Regions from separate parts of the Homo sapiens genome. Here region 2 is linked to region 1. Evidence: promoter capture Hi-C in human tissues and cell types (Jung and others, 2019). All regions are on one chromosome and are shown on one strand. The core of a region is centred on a gene start or on the middle of the fragment in contact, and the rest is flanking DNA. Distances in the headings are between cores, read along the strand shown.

What was found. Contacts are between HindIII fragments. The study calls those that stand out against the background at their distance.
Region 2: a contact is called between a fragment that was not itself captured here and the fragment with the promoter of EIF4EBP1 in region 1, in 2 of the 25 tissues and cell types used here (IMR-90 fibroblasts and mesenchymal stem cells).

Annotation. Positions count from the first base shown.
Region 1 is chr8:38,027,969-38,033,671 of GRCh38, reverse strand. It overlaps EIF4EBP1 (eukaryotic translation initiation factor 4E binding protein 1), which reads right to left and starts at 3,138. Exons shown (of 3, transcript NM_004095.4): 1 at 2,954-3,138. The coding sequence starts at 3,098. RefSeq lists enhancers at 2,318-2,417, 3,047-3,341 and a silencer at 2,918-3,357. The HindIII fragment of the contact is 9,944 bases long and covers 1-5,703 here.
Region 2 is chr8:37,870,992-37,876,694 of GRCh38, reverse strand. It overlaps RAB11FIP1 (RAB11 family interacting protein 1), which reads left to right. Exons shown (of 6, transcript NM_001002814.3): 3 at 1,373-2,180; 4 at 3,516-5,417. Among named protein-coding and RNA genes, the nearest start is that of BRF2, 24 kb to the right of the region's middle. The HindIII fragment of the contact is 6,711 bases long and covers 1-5,428 here.

The DNA of each region.
Region 1 (5,703 bases), core at 1,889-4,388:
CACTTGAGGGCCATTCCCAGCAGGAGTGACTGGGGGGTACTTACTCCAATGGTTTTTCCTGAGAAGCTGACAGTCCCTATAAGTAAGCAGGTGCAGACAGCCATGCAGACACTCTATCAAAAGCCTGGCTCTCCACACCACGATTTAGAGATCAAAGTTTACCTGGATGGAGCCATCTTTTTTTTTTTTTTGCTAGACTCCAGAGATCTGAAAGGTGAGGGAAGTTATGTTTCACTAATTCCTGAGTACTCAGAGTGTGGTATGTGCACCAATCAGTCAGAGCTAGTTAGAAATGCTGAATCTAGGCCGGGCATGGTGACTCACGCCTGTAATCCCAGCATTCTGGAAGGCCGAGGCAGGCAGATCACTTGAGGCCAGGAGTTTGAGACCAGCCTGGTCAACATGGTGAAACCCCCGTCTCTACCAAAAAATACAAAAATCAGCTGGGCATGGGTGGTGCATGCCTGTTGTCCCAGTTATTGGGGAGGCTGGGGTGGGAGGATTGCTTGAACCCAGGAGGTGGAGGTTGCTGTGAGCTGAGATTGCGCCACTGCACTCCAGCCTGGGTGATAGAGTGAGACCCTGTCTCAAAAAAAAAAAAAAAAAAAAGAAAGAAAGAAAAGAAAGAAATGCTGAATCTAGTTCCCACCCCCACCTACAGAATCAGAATATGCACTTAAATGAAGCCCCCAGTTATCCTCAAGCACCTGGAAGACTGAGAGGCAGTATTCTGCTCTGGAGCAAAAGGGTGTGACCATTTTGGCTGCAATGTGACCATTTTGGCTTCTCTGCCCTGGCAGAGGTGGGCTGAGGTGGGCTTTGGAGGAAGAGTCCACACCTTGGCTAATCGAGGCCGACCAGGCTTGCTTGACTTTAGTGGAAGTCAGCCAGGTTTCCCTGGCTTAGGGACTGTGAGCTGTACCTGCTCCACTGGACGACCAAACAGTGAGCTGGCTTTAGGCTCCTGGCACTGCTAGCTTCTTCCAGTGATCTCAGAAACATATGCTATGCCCTGATGCAGAAGTCCCTTCCCCACTCCCCCTACTGCTAAAGACCTTCAAAGGGAAGGGGATTTGCTGTGGTCTGTCAGCCCCCTGCCCACTCCCCACTTCCCAACCCAAAGTGAAAAGTGGATTTGAAGTTCCTATATTTTATATTTATTATTTATTTTAGAGATAGGGTCTCGCTCTGTCACCCAGGCTGGAGTGCAGTGGTCAATCATAGCTCACTACAGCCTCCAACTCCTGGGCTCAAGCGATCCTCTGGCCTCAGCCTCTGTAGTAGCTAGGACAACATTTTGTTGTTGTTTTGTTTGTTTCTTTGTAGAGATGGAGTCTCACTATGTTGCCCAGGCTGGTCTTGAACTCCTGGCCTCAAGCAATTCTCCTGCCTTGGCTCCCCAAAATGCTGGCATTACAGGTGTGAACCTTGGTACCCGGGCCAGAAGTGCCTATAAACAGTATCCTGGCTTCCAATTTGACCCAACAATCCAGCAATAAAGAGTGCAAAAAAGGGCTACCTGCGCCTTCAGGCCGGCCTCAGGGCCCACCCTGAACAAATCCAGCAGACACTTACACCCTCATTTGAAAGAACTCCAAAATTGTCAGGAATTGTCCTGGTAGACCATTGTGACAGAGACAAAGGAGAACAGCATGGACTACAAAAGACCCAGCAAGGGAAAGAGGATGAGTCGGGAATGGCAACAAGAGCCCCTGCGAGCTTTTCCTTGGCTCATTTCTAATAGAAAAGGAAGCATTTCTCCCTTCTCTGCCTGGTTGCTATTTCTTGTCCAATCTGGGAAAACGGTGTGACAATGGGCAACAGACACGTGTTCAAGCTCTGGGGCCTCAATGCCGGGCTCTGTAGAATAAGACGGCAGGGCTGGACAAGATCCCTAACCGTTCTAACAGTGTATGTTTTGGATCAAACAGCAGAGGACCTCGGATCTGGCCGCGCTCGCTGCTGGTGGGACAGCTGCCTGAGAAAATAAGCATGTGGCCCCCGCCCGCCACCTAGCCAAGCGCCAGGATCTGTCGCGTTTTCTAGTAGTATGGAAAGCAGCGTGGAGGAGAATGAAGGGAGAGGAGCAAAAAGGGGTGGGGGCAGTGCGACAATGAGAGGGGAGGAGAGAGCCACGAGGATTTATTTCATCATGCAAACAGGCGCGTAGGTTTCATCAGCGTCTGTGCGCTGGGGCTCCGGGGCTGGGAGGGAATGCCAGGTTCCTGAGGGCAGCCCGAGGCTGGCCCCCCCACCCGTGCCAGCTCAGCTTCCTCTTCCTCATCCTCTCCCAGGGAGGTCACACGGTGCCTCCTCCTCTCCCCGGACAGAAGAACGTGTTTTTCTGCACAGCCCTGGCCGTGGCGCCAGGGTCCCCCCCGCGGAGATCCCACTCGCGTAAATGGGGAACGTGCCACAGGTGCCCGGGAGGCGCTGCTGGAGCAGGCAAGCACCCCCAGATCCGAACCTCAGTCAGAGCGCGCGAGTCCAACACAAAACTCGGCGTGCTTCGGGAAGGAAAAAGGGCCCTGCAGGAATCGTTTATCCCAACAGATAATACCCATCCCATAAAAACACCAGGCCAGGCCTCTCCTGGATCGTGGGCCACCCTAACTCCGCCCTCTCCCGCTTCGGGAGCGCCCCCAACACCCACAAGGGGCAGCACAGCTCGGCATGTGGCTGTCCTGGAGGCGTGCGTGTTTGTTAGGTGTCAGCTGTCTGACACCTAACAGAAAGAGGAAACAAACGGGGCAGTTTGTAACTCGGGTCTGGAAGACGCACTCAGAGGGGAAGCGGGCGGCCACTTCCATGACCCTCGCTGTCTCTCCGATGCCCCTTTTCCGTTCTTTCCAATCACGGCGCCCTTGAGCCTGGACACCCGGTCCAATCCGCGATTCCCGATCCTCCCGCCCGCCCAGGAGCCGGCAAGCGGCGTCGCCAAGCCCGCGCCTACCTCCCGGGGTGGTGCTGAAGAGCGTGCCGCCGGGGGTCGTGCTGTAGTCCCCGGGCGGGAGCTGCACGCCGTCGCCGAGCACCACCCGGCGAGTGGCGGGGATGGCCCGGCTTGGGGTCTGGCTGCAGCTGCTGCCCCCGGACATGGTCTCCTGTGCGCTGCACCCGCGAACCTCTCGCTGCCCTCCCGCGCCTCCAGCCTCGCTCCGCCTCGCCCCGTGCCGCCCCGCCCCAGGACGCCCCTTCCGCCTCTCCCGCCCCACGCCCCTGGGATTTGTAGTCCGCGCCGCAGCCCCACCCAGCTCCAGGACGCTGCTTCCACGTGGGATCCCCCGCCGCCCCCCGACCCACTCCCGTCTGCTCACGGGCTCTTCCGCACGGGCGCTGGCGCCGCCCCGCAGCGACTGCCCCTCCGTCCGGGGTCCCTCCCCGCCACGCTGGCAGGGACGGATATGGGGATGGCGGGCGGGATAGCTCGCCTAAATTAATCCTTGGCTGGGTTGGGGGCGGCGACTCAGGACCGCGCGGAGATCCGAGCTGACCCGGCCCACTGCAGGAAGGCCCGGTTTCTGCATTAGGACATCAGGCCTGGTGTACCCTTCGGCACTCCCTGTTTCGTGCCTTAGTTCCTCAGATGAGAAAATGGGGATTGAGTAGTTATGCTCACCGCCCCCCGCCCCGCTTCAATTTCTTGACCTTGATGGGGGTGGGGGTGGAGGGGCTAACAATTCCGTTCCCGGCCTTTAGAGAGGGTGTGGGAGGAGGAGTGAACCAACCAGCGGCGTCCTGGGAGCTAAATTTAGAGCTGGGGGCGCAGAGGTGGGTGGTGGGGAAGGGCGTTGGAGAGGAGTAAGAGTGTCGAAGAGGTTTCCCGATAGCCCCTGAATTGAGTCCAACGTCCACCTGAGGTTTAGTAGGTACTCCTTGGATGGATGGATGGATGGATGGATGGATGGATGGATGGATGGATGTTCAAGGGGAGAGAGAAAAATGCAAGAAGGACCGAGGATGGAAAAGCTTGTTGGGTTTGAGAAGTTCTTAGCATTATGGGCACATATTGTGGGGAAGAGGGTGAAGAGGGGAGGGCAGTTTAAAAGGGAAATTGGGTGGTGCACCTGTAATCCCAGCTACTCAGGAAGCTGAGGCTGGAGGATGCTTGAGCCCAGGGGTTTGAGGCTCCAGTGAGCTGTGATCACACCACTGCACTCCACCCTTTGTGACAGAGACCCTATCTCTAAAAAAATATATAATAATTTTTTAAAAAGGAAATTGGGGTCAGGTCGTTGAGTTTTTCAAATTATGCCAAAGTGCTTGGACTTTGTCTTAGAAGGGCAGGAGATATCAGAGATCTTTTAAGCAGGGGGATGACATGATTTGAGTTGTTTTTTGGAAGGATAACTAGTAGCCAGTGGAGTTTCAGAATGGGCCAAGGAGGGCAAGGCCTGAGATAGGGAGACCTGTTGAGTTTGGTCTCACTTTTGAGGGAAACTTTAGGCCTACAGTGGCTAAGACAGTAGCCACCAGCTACAGGTGCACATTGAGCACTCCAAATGTGACCAGTCCAAACTGTCACAAGTTTAACATACACACCATATTTCAAAGACTTAGTGTGAAGAAAATCATGTAAAATACCTGAATAATTTGTTTCTATATTGATTGTATGTTGAACTGATAATATTTTGAGTATACTGGGTTAAGAAAAATACATTATAAAAATTAATTTTGGGCCAGGCGCAGTGGCTCACGCCTGTAATCCCAACACGTTGGGAGGCCGAGGCAGGCGGATCATGAGGTCAAGAGATCGAGACCATCCTGGACAACATGGTGAAACCCTGTCTCTACTAAAAATATAAAAAAAATTAGCTGGGCATGGTGGCGCATGCCTGTAGTCCCAGCTACTCGGGAGGCTGAGGCAGGAGAATTGCTTGAACCTGGGAGGCAGAGGTTGCAGTGAGCTGAAATCATGCCACTGCACTCCAGCCTGGCGTCAGAGCAAGACTCTGTCTCAAAAGAAAAAAAAATAAATTTCGGCTGGGTGCAGTGGCTCACGCCTGTAATCCCACCACTTTGGGAGGCCTAGGCGGGTGGATCATGAGGTCAGGAGTTCAAGACCAGCCTGGCCAAGATGGTGAAACCCTGTCTCTACTAAAAATACAAAAAAACAAAACAAACAAACAAACAAACAAAAACAACAGACCGGGCACAGTGGCGGGTGCCTGTAATCCCAGCTACTCGGGAGGCTGAGGTGGAGAATTGCTTGAACCTGGGAGGCAGAGGTTGTAGTGAGTAGAGATCTGCCACTGCACTCCAGCCTGGGTGACAGAGTGAGACTCCGTCTCAAAAAAAAAAAAAAAAAAAAATTAATTTCATCCAGGTGCTGTGGATCACACCTGTAATACCAGCACATTTGGAGACCGAGGTGAGCAGACTGCTTGGGCTCAGGAGTTTGAGACAAGCCTGGGCAACATGGTGAAACTCTGTCTCTACAAAAAAATTTAAAAATTAGCCCAGTGTTGTGGCTCACACCTGTGGTCCCAGCTACTTTCAAGGATGAGGTAGGAAGATGACCTGAGCCCCAGAGGTGGAGGTTGCCATGAGCCAAGATTGCACCACTGCACTCCAGCCAGGGCTCAAAAAATAAATAAATAATATAAGATAAAAATAGACCAGGCCTTGCTGGTTGCAGCGATGTGCACTTGTAATCCCAGCCCTAGCTGGGATTACAAGGCCAGAGGATTGCTTGAGGCCGGG
Region 2 (5,703 bases), core at 824-3,323, 160 kb after region 1:
CACTCCAGCCTGGGTGACAGAGTGAGACTCTGTCTCAAAAAAAAAAAAATGCCCTCTCTGTTTCTTTTTTTAAAATATTTTTTGTTTGTTTGTTTTAGAGACAGGGTCTTGCTCTATTGCCCACGCTGGAGTGCAGTGGCGCGATCATAGCTTACGGCAGCCTCCAACTCCTGGGCTCAAGGAATCCTCTCACCTTGGCCTTCTGAGGAGCTGGGACTACAGGTGTGCATCATCACACCTGATTAATTAAAAAAAATTTTTTTTTTAGAGATGAGGTCTCACTATGTTGCCCAGGCTGGTCTGAAACTCCTGGCTTCAAGTGATCCTCCTGCCTCAGCCTCTCAAAGGGCTCTTATGACCGGTGTGAACCATTGCCCATGGCTGAGATGCCCTCTCTATTTCTAAGCCCTCTGGTTTCTTTCCTTCTTTCTTCCTTCCTTCCTTCCTTCCTTCCTTCCTTCCTTCCTTCCTTCCTTCCTTTCTTTCTTTTCTTTTCTTTTGAGATGGAGTCTTGCTCTGTCACCCAGGCTGGAGTGCAATGGTGCGATCTTGGCTCTTTGCAACTTCCGCCTCCTGGGTTTAAGCAATTCTCCTTCCTCAGTCTCCCGAATAGCTGGGATTCCAGGTCCGTGCCACCACACCCGGTGAATTTTTGTATTTTTAGTAGAGTTGGGGTTTCACCATGTTGACCAGGCTGGTTTTGAACTCCTGACCTCAAGTGATCCACCTGCCTTGGCCTCCCAAAGTGCTGGGATTATACCCTCTGGTTTCTAAGAATGTATAAATTCCTTTTCCAGAGTTCCTGGCTCTATAAATGATGTCCACTAGTACAAGCTTTTAGAGCTAACAGAATGAGTGTCTTCCAAGTTTTTTTTTTCTTTTTTTTAAGGGTAAAACCATGGAACCTTATGGTAATTCTGATATTTCATTAATTCATCAGGTAGTTATTGAGTTCCTGTGATGTGCTCAACCCTCGTGGGATATAGCCTTATCAGAAGCCAAGGAATCTGCTTCCTTTAGCTCTGAGTTAATTATGTATTTTGAACTTCAATTTCAATGTCTAAATCCCTCCCATTGGCCGGATTCTGCTACTCTACCAAGAGTGCTGCCCTTTTCATTGGTTTAACCCAGAGTTTCTCAACCTCAGCACTGTGGACAGTTTAGACTAGACAGGCCTTTGTCGTGGGGGGCTGTGCTATACGTTGTAAGATGTTCAGTATCATCCTTGTCCTCTACCTGCTGGATACGAATAGCAGCACACCCCCTCCAAGTTGTGGCAACCAGAAATGTATCCAGACGTTGACAGATGCCCCTACACTGCAAACCACCCGTTTAACATCTTATCCCCTTTCTGTTCTTTTTCTTCCCAAAGTCATGTCTCACAAGAGAACAGCGAGTACGGATCTTAAGCAACTGAACCAGGTCAACTTTACCCTTCCCAAGAAGGAAGGACTTTCCTTTCTTGGTGGCCTTCGGTCTAAGAATGATGTCCTTTCCCGCTCTAATGTCTGCATCAATGGGAACCATGTTTACCTGGAGCAGCCAGAAGCCAAGGGTGAGATCAAGGATAGCAGCCCGTCCTCCTCCCCATCCCCCAAGGGCTTCAGAAAGAAGCATTTGTTCTCTTCTACAGAGAACCTGGCGGCTGGGTCTTGGAAGGAGCCTGCTGAAGGAGGTGGGCTGTCTTCTGACAGGCAGCTCTCCGAATCTTCCACCAAGGACTCCTTGAAGTCTATGACCCTGCCGTCCTACCGACCTGCCCCACTGGTCAGTGGGGACCTCAGGGAAAACATGGCCCCCGCAAACTCAGAGGCCACAAAAGAAGCTAAGGAGAGCAAGAAGCCAGAGAGCAGGAGGTCCTCTTTGCTGTCTCTGATGACGGGGAAGAAGGATGTGGCTAAGGGCAGTGAAGGTGAAAACCCTCTCACGGTCCCAGGGAGGGAGAAGGAAGGCATGCTGATGGGGGTTAAGCCGGGGGAGGACGCATCGGGGCCTGCTGAAGACCTTGTGAGAAGATCTGAGAAAGATACTGCAGCTGTTGTCTCCAGACAGGGCAGCTCCCTGAACCTCTTTGAAGATGTGCAGATCACAGAACCAGAAGCTGAGCCAGAGTCCAAGTCTGAACCGAGACCTCCAATTTCCTCTCCGAGGGCTCCCCAGACCAGAGCTGTCAAGCCCCGGTGAGTTTTGGCTCTTCTCGTGCAGGGCATTTCTGCCTTGCCATTGGTGGTTTTCAGGCTTACGTTAGACCAGCTCTTGTGGGTCCCATGATATCATAGTACCCATATATGCCAAAGGTTTGCTGGTCTAAATTATTTTTTTAACCAGTCCCTACTGCCAGCCTGGCCTGCCCTGTATAAATTGCAGTGATGTTTCCCAGCTCAGAGCTACTGCCCAGCAGGCATGGTCTGTCCTTTCAGTCAGCTTATCAGATCTCAGTGGAACGCAGTGGTTTGTAGCAGATTGTGGGTGTTGCAAGTTGGGAATACTGAGTTTGGGTTGTAGTGTATGCAGAACCTGTGTTTTCGAAGTTCTTATCTCACATTTCCCTTTGAGCCAGATGTTATCCTGCCTCCTTGCCTTTTGGCATTGGTTTCTGGTATGAGAGACCCTCGGTCCTCTCTCAAGTGACAGTGACGGTTCTTTGTGTCCACTCTGCCCCTTGTTGTAAGAGCCGGCATAAGCCTTGGGGACTGGCCTTGGGGACTTCTGCTTTTCTGTGTGATCACATTCATACTGACAATATTTCTGCGGTCTGGGGAGTGAGATTTTTTTTTTTAGAGATTCTGCTTACTTTGACATGCACACACACACACACACACATATACACACACATACACACTGTTCCTCTTAAACTTATCTGTGCCTGTTGCTTTGTGTTACATCTTTAACCACTTTAAACCTTTTAGGTGCATTTTGTCCTGTAATAATCAAATGCTCGGGCCTTGTGTTAATCACCACAAGAAACCAGAGGCTATTGCTTTACCGGGATCTTTTCATTTCTATTGCAACAGACTTTTGTGTGACGGATCTGCTTGGTTATAAAAGTGTCTGTTGTGTATGTTAAGTGTTAGTGTTCCTTTTTTTTTTTGAGACAGTCTCCCTCTATCGCCCAGGCTGGAGTGCAGTGGCACGATCTCAACTCACTGCAACCTCCACCTCCCAGGTTCAAGCAGTTCTCCTGCCTCAGCCTCCCGAGTAGCTGGGACTACAGGTGCACACCACCACACCCGGCTAATTTTTGCATTTTTCAGTAGAGATGAGGTTTCACCATGTTGGCTGGGCTGGTCTTGAACTCCTGACTTCAGGTGATCCGCCTGCCTCGGCCTCCCACAGTGCTGGGATTACAGGCGTGAGCCACCGCGCCCGGCTAGCGTTCCTTTTTTAACTTCTTAAGGTACTGCCCCACGTGTAAAGACGTTCTCCCCTGGTGAATGACTTGTTTTTGTGTATTTTCTTTGTCTCTCGTGATGCATCTGCACTGACCTGCAGATTTTATTTTGTCCTTTTTGCAGACTGGAAGTGTCTCCAGAGGCGCAACCCACAGCCAGGCTTCCTTCCCCTACTGACTCCCCTTCCTCTCTTCCTCCTCTTCCTTCTAGCTCTGGCCAGGCATCTGTCCCCTCTGAATTGGGACATGGTGCAGACACACAGTCCTCTGAGAGTCCTTCTGTCTTCTCCTCTCTCTCATCTCCCATAGCAGCTCCCATTTCCACATCCACTCCAATTGAAAGCTGGCCTCTCGTAGACAGGGGCCAGGCCAAGTCTGAAGGACCACCCTTGCTCCCTAAGGCAGAGTTGCAAACTGAGAGTTTAACACCGGTTCCAAATTCTGGTTCTTCTGCCCTGGGATCACTTTTCAAACAGCCATCCTTTCCAGCAAATAAAGGGACAGAAGATTCTCTGATGGGCAGGACCCGTGAGACAGGCACAGAGAAGAACACCAGCAGCCTTGAGTTGGAGGAGTCTCTCCCAGAGCAGCCTGAAACAGGGCGACAAGAGGAAGAACTTCCGAGATTCCCCTGCAAAAAACAAGACTACAGCCCATCATCTGGAGAAGCCCAGGAAGTACCGTTTGCCCTTTCACTCAGCAGTGATGGAGCTGTGAGCCCTGTTGGGGAGCTTGCAGCAGGAGGAGACAGAGACTTGGAGAGTCAGGCTGGGTCTCTTGTGGAGAGCAAAGCCAGGGATGCAGCTGAAGAAGTGGCGCCCCCTCTTCCCATGGGAGCATCAGTCCCTTCCATTGATTCCATGATGCGGAAGCTGGAAGAGATGGGTCTGAACCTCCGCAAGGACCAGAAGAAAACCAAGAAGCGTGTGTCATTTTCTGAGCAGCTCTTCACGGAAGAGGCAGTGGCGGGGGCTGCCTTGCTGGTGGAAGGACACAGCAGTTGTCCCCAGGAGCTGAACCCTGCATGGTCTGTTGCTGGAAACGCGTCTGACGGAGAGCCTCCTGAGTCTCCCCACGCAGAGGACTCAGAAAGGGAATCGGTGACCACACCTGGGCCAGCGACGTGTGGTGCGCCAGCCTCCCCAGCGGATCACCTCCTCCTCCCCTCCCAGGAGGAGAGTTTCTCCGAAGTCCCCATGAGTGAAGCAAGCTCAGCGAAAGACACTCCACTCTTTAGGATGGAGGGAGAGGATGCCCTTGTGACTCAGTATCAGAGCAAAGCCAGTGACCACGAAGGTTTATTGTCTGACCCCTTGAGTGACCTTCAGTTGGTCTCAGATTTTAAATCTCCAATCATGGCCGATCTGAACTTAAGCCTTCCTTCCATTCCTGAAGTCGCATCGGATGATGAAAGAATAGATCAGGTTGAAGATGACGGAGATCAGGTTGAAGATGATGGAGAGACAGCAAAGTCGTCAACTCTGGACATAGGAGCTTTGTCCTTGGGCTTGGTAGTCCCCTGTCCTGAGAGGGGAAAGGGGCCCAGTGGCGAGGCAGATAGGTTGGTACTGGGGGAGGGCCTGTGTGATTTCAGGCTGCAAGCACCCCAGGCATCTGTGACAGCTCCTTCAGAGCAGACCACAGAGTTCGGAATTCACAAACCACATCTTGGCAAGAGCTCAAGCTTGGATAAACAGCTGCCAGGCCCCAGTGGTGGTGAGGAAGAAAAACCGATGGGAAATGGGAGTCCAAGCCCGCCTCCTGGCACATCCCTGGACAATCCTGTACCCAGCCCCTCCCCTTCTGAGATCTTTCCTGTCACACACTCTTTCCCCAGCTCTGCACATTCTGACACTCACCACACCAGCACAGCAGAATCTCAAAAAAAAGCCACAGCAGAGGGCTCCGCTGGTAGAGTTGAAAATTTTGGCAAGAGGAAGCCACTCCTCCAGGCCTGGGTCTCACCCTCGGAGACACATCCAGTCTCAGCTCAGCCAGGCGCTGGAACTGGGTCAGCCAAGCACAGGTGAGAGATGGGGGAGATTGTCTATGTAAATGTGAGCAATGTCCCCCTTTGCTTCCTACCTGCAGAGGTTACGGCTTTCTAACCACACAGACGTCTGATGTGACAACCCACCTGTCACTGTCCTGCTGGTAGGGCTGCCCCTTGTGGTGGTAATACCTCAAGACACTGCTGCGTTTATAGCAAGAACATAATAGTAGTCTGTAAATATAGCTTAGGAATTGTTCTGCACGGTCAGATTTGGAGCTCGCACATTGCAGAAACGCAATGCCACCAGTATCTTAACTGT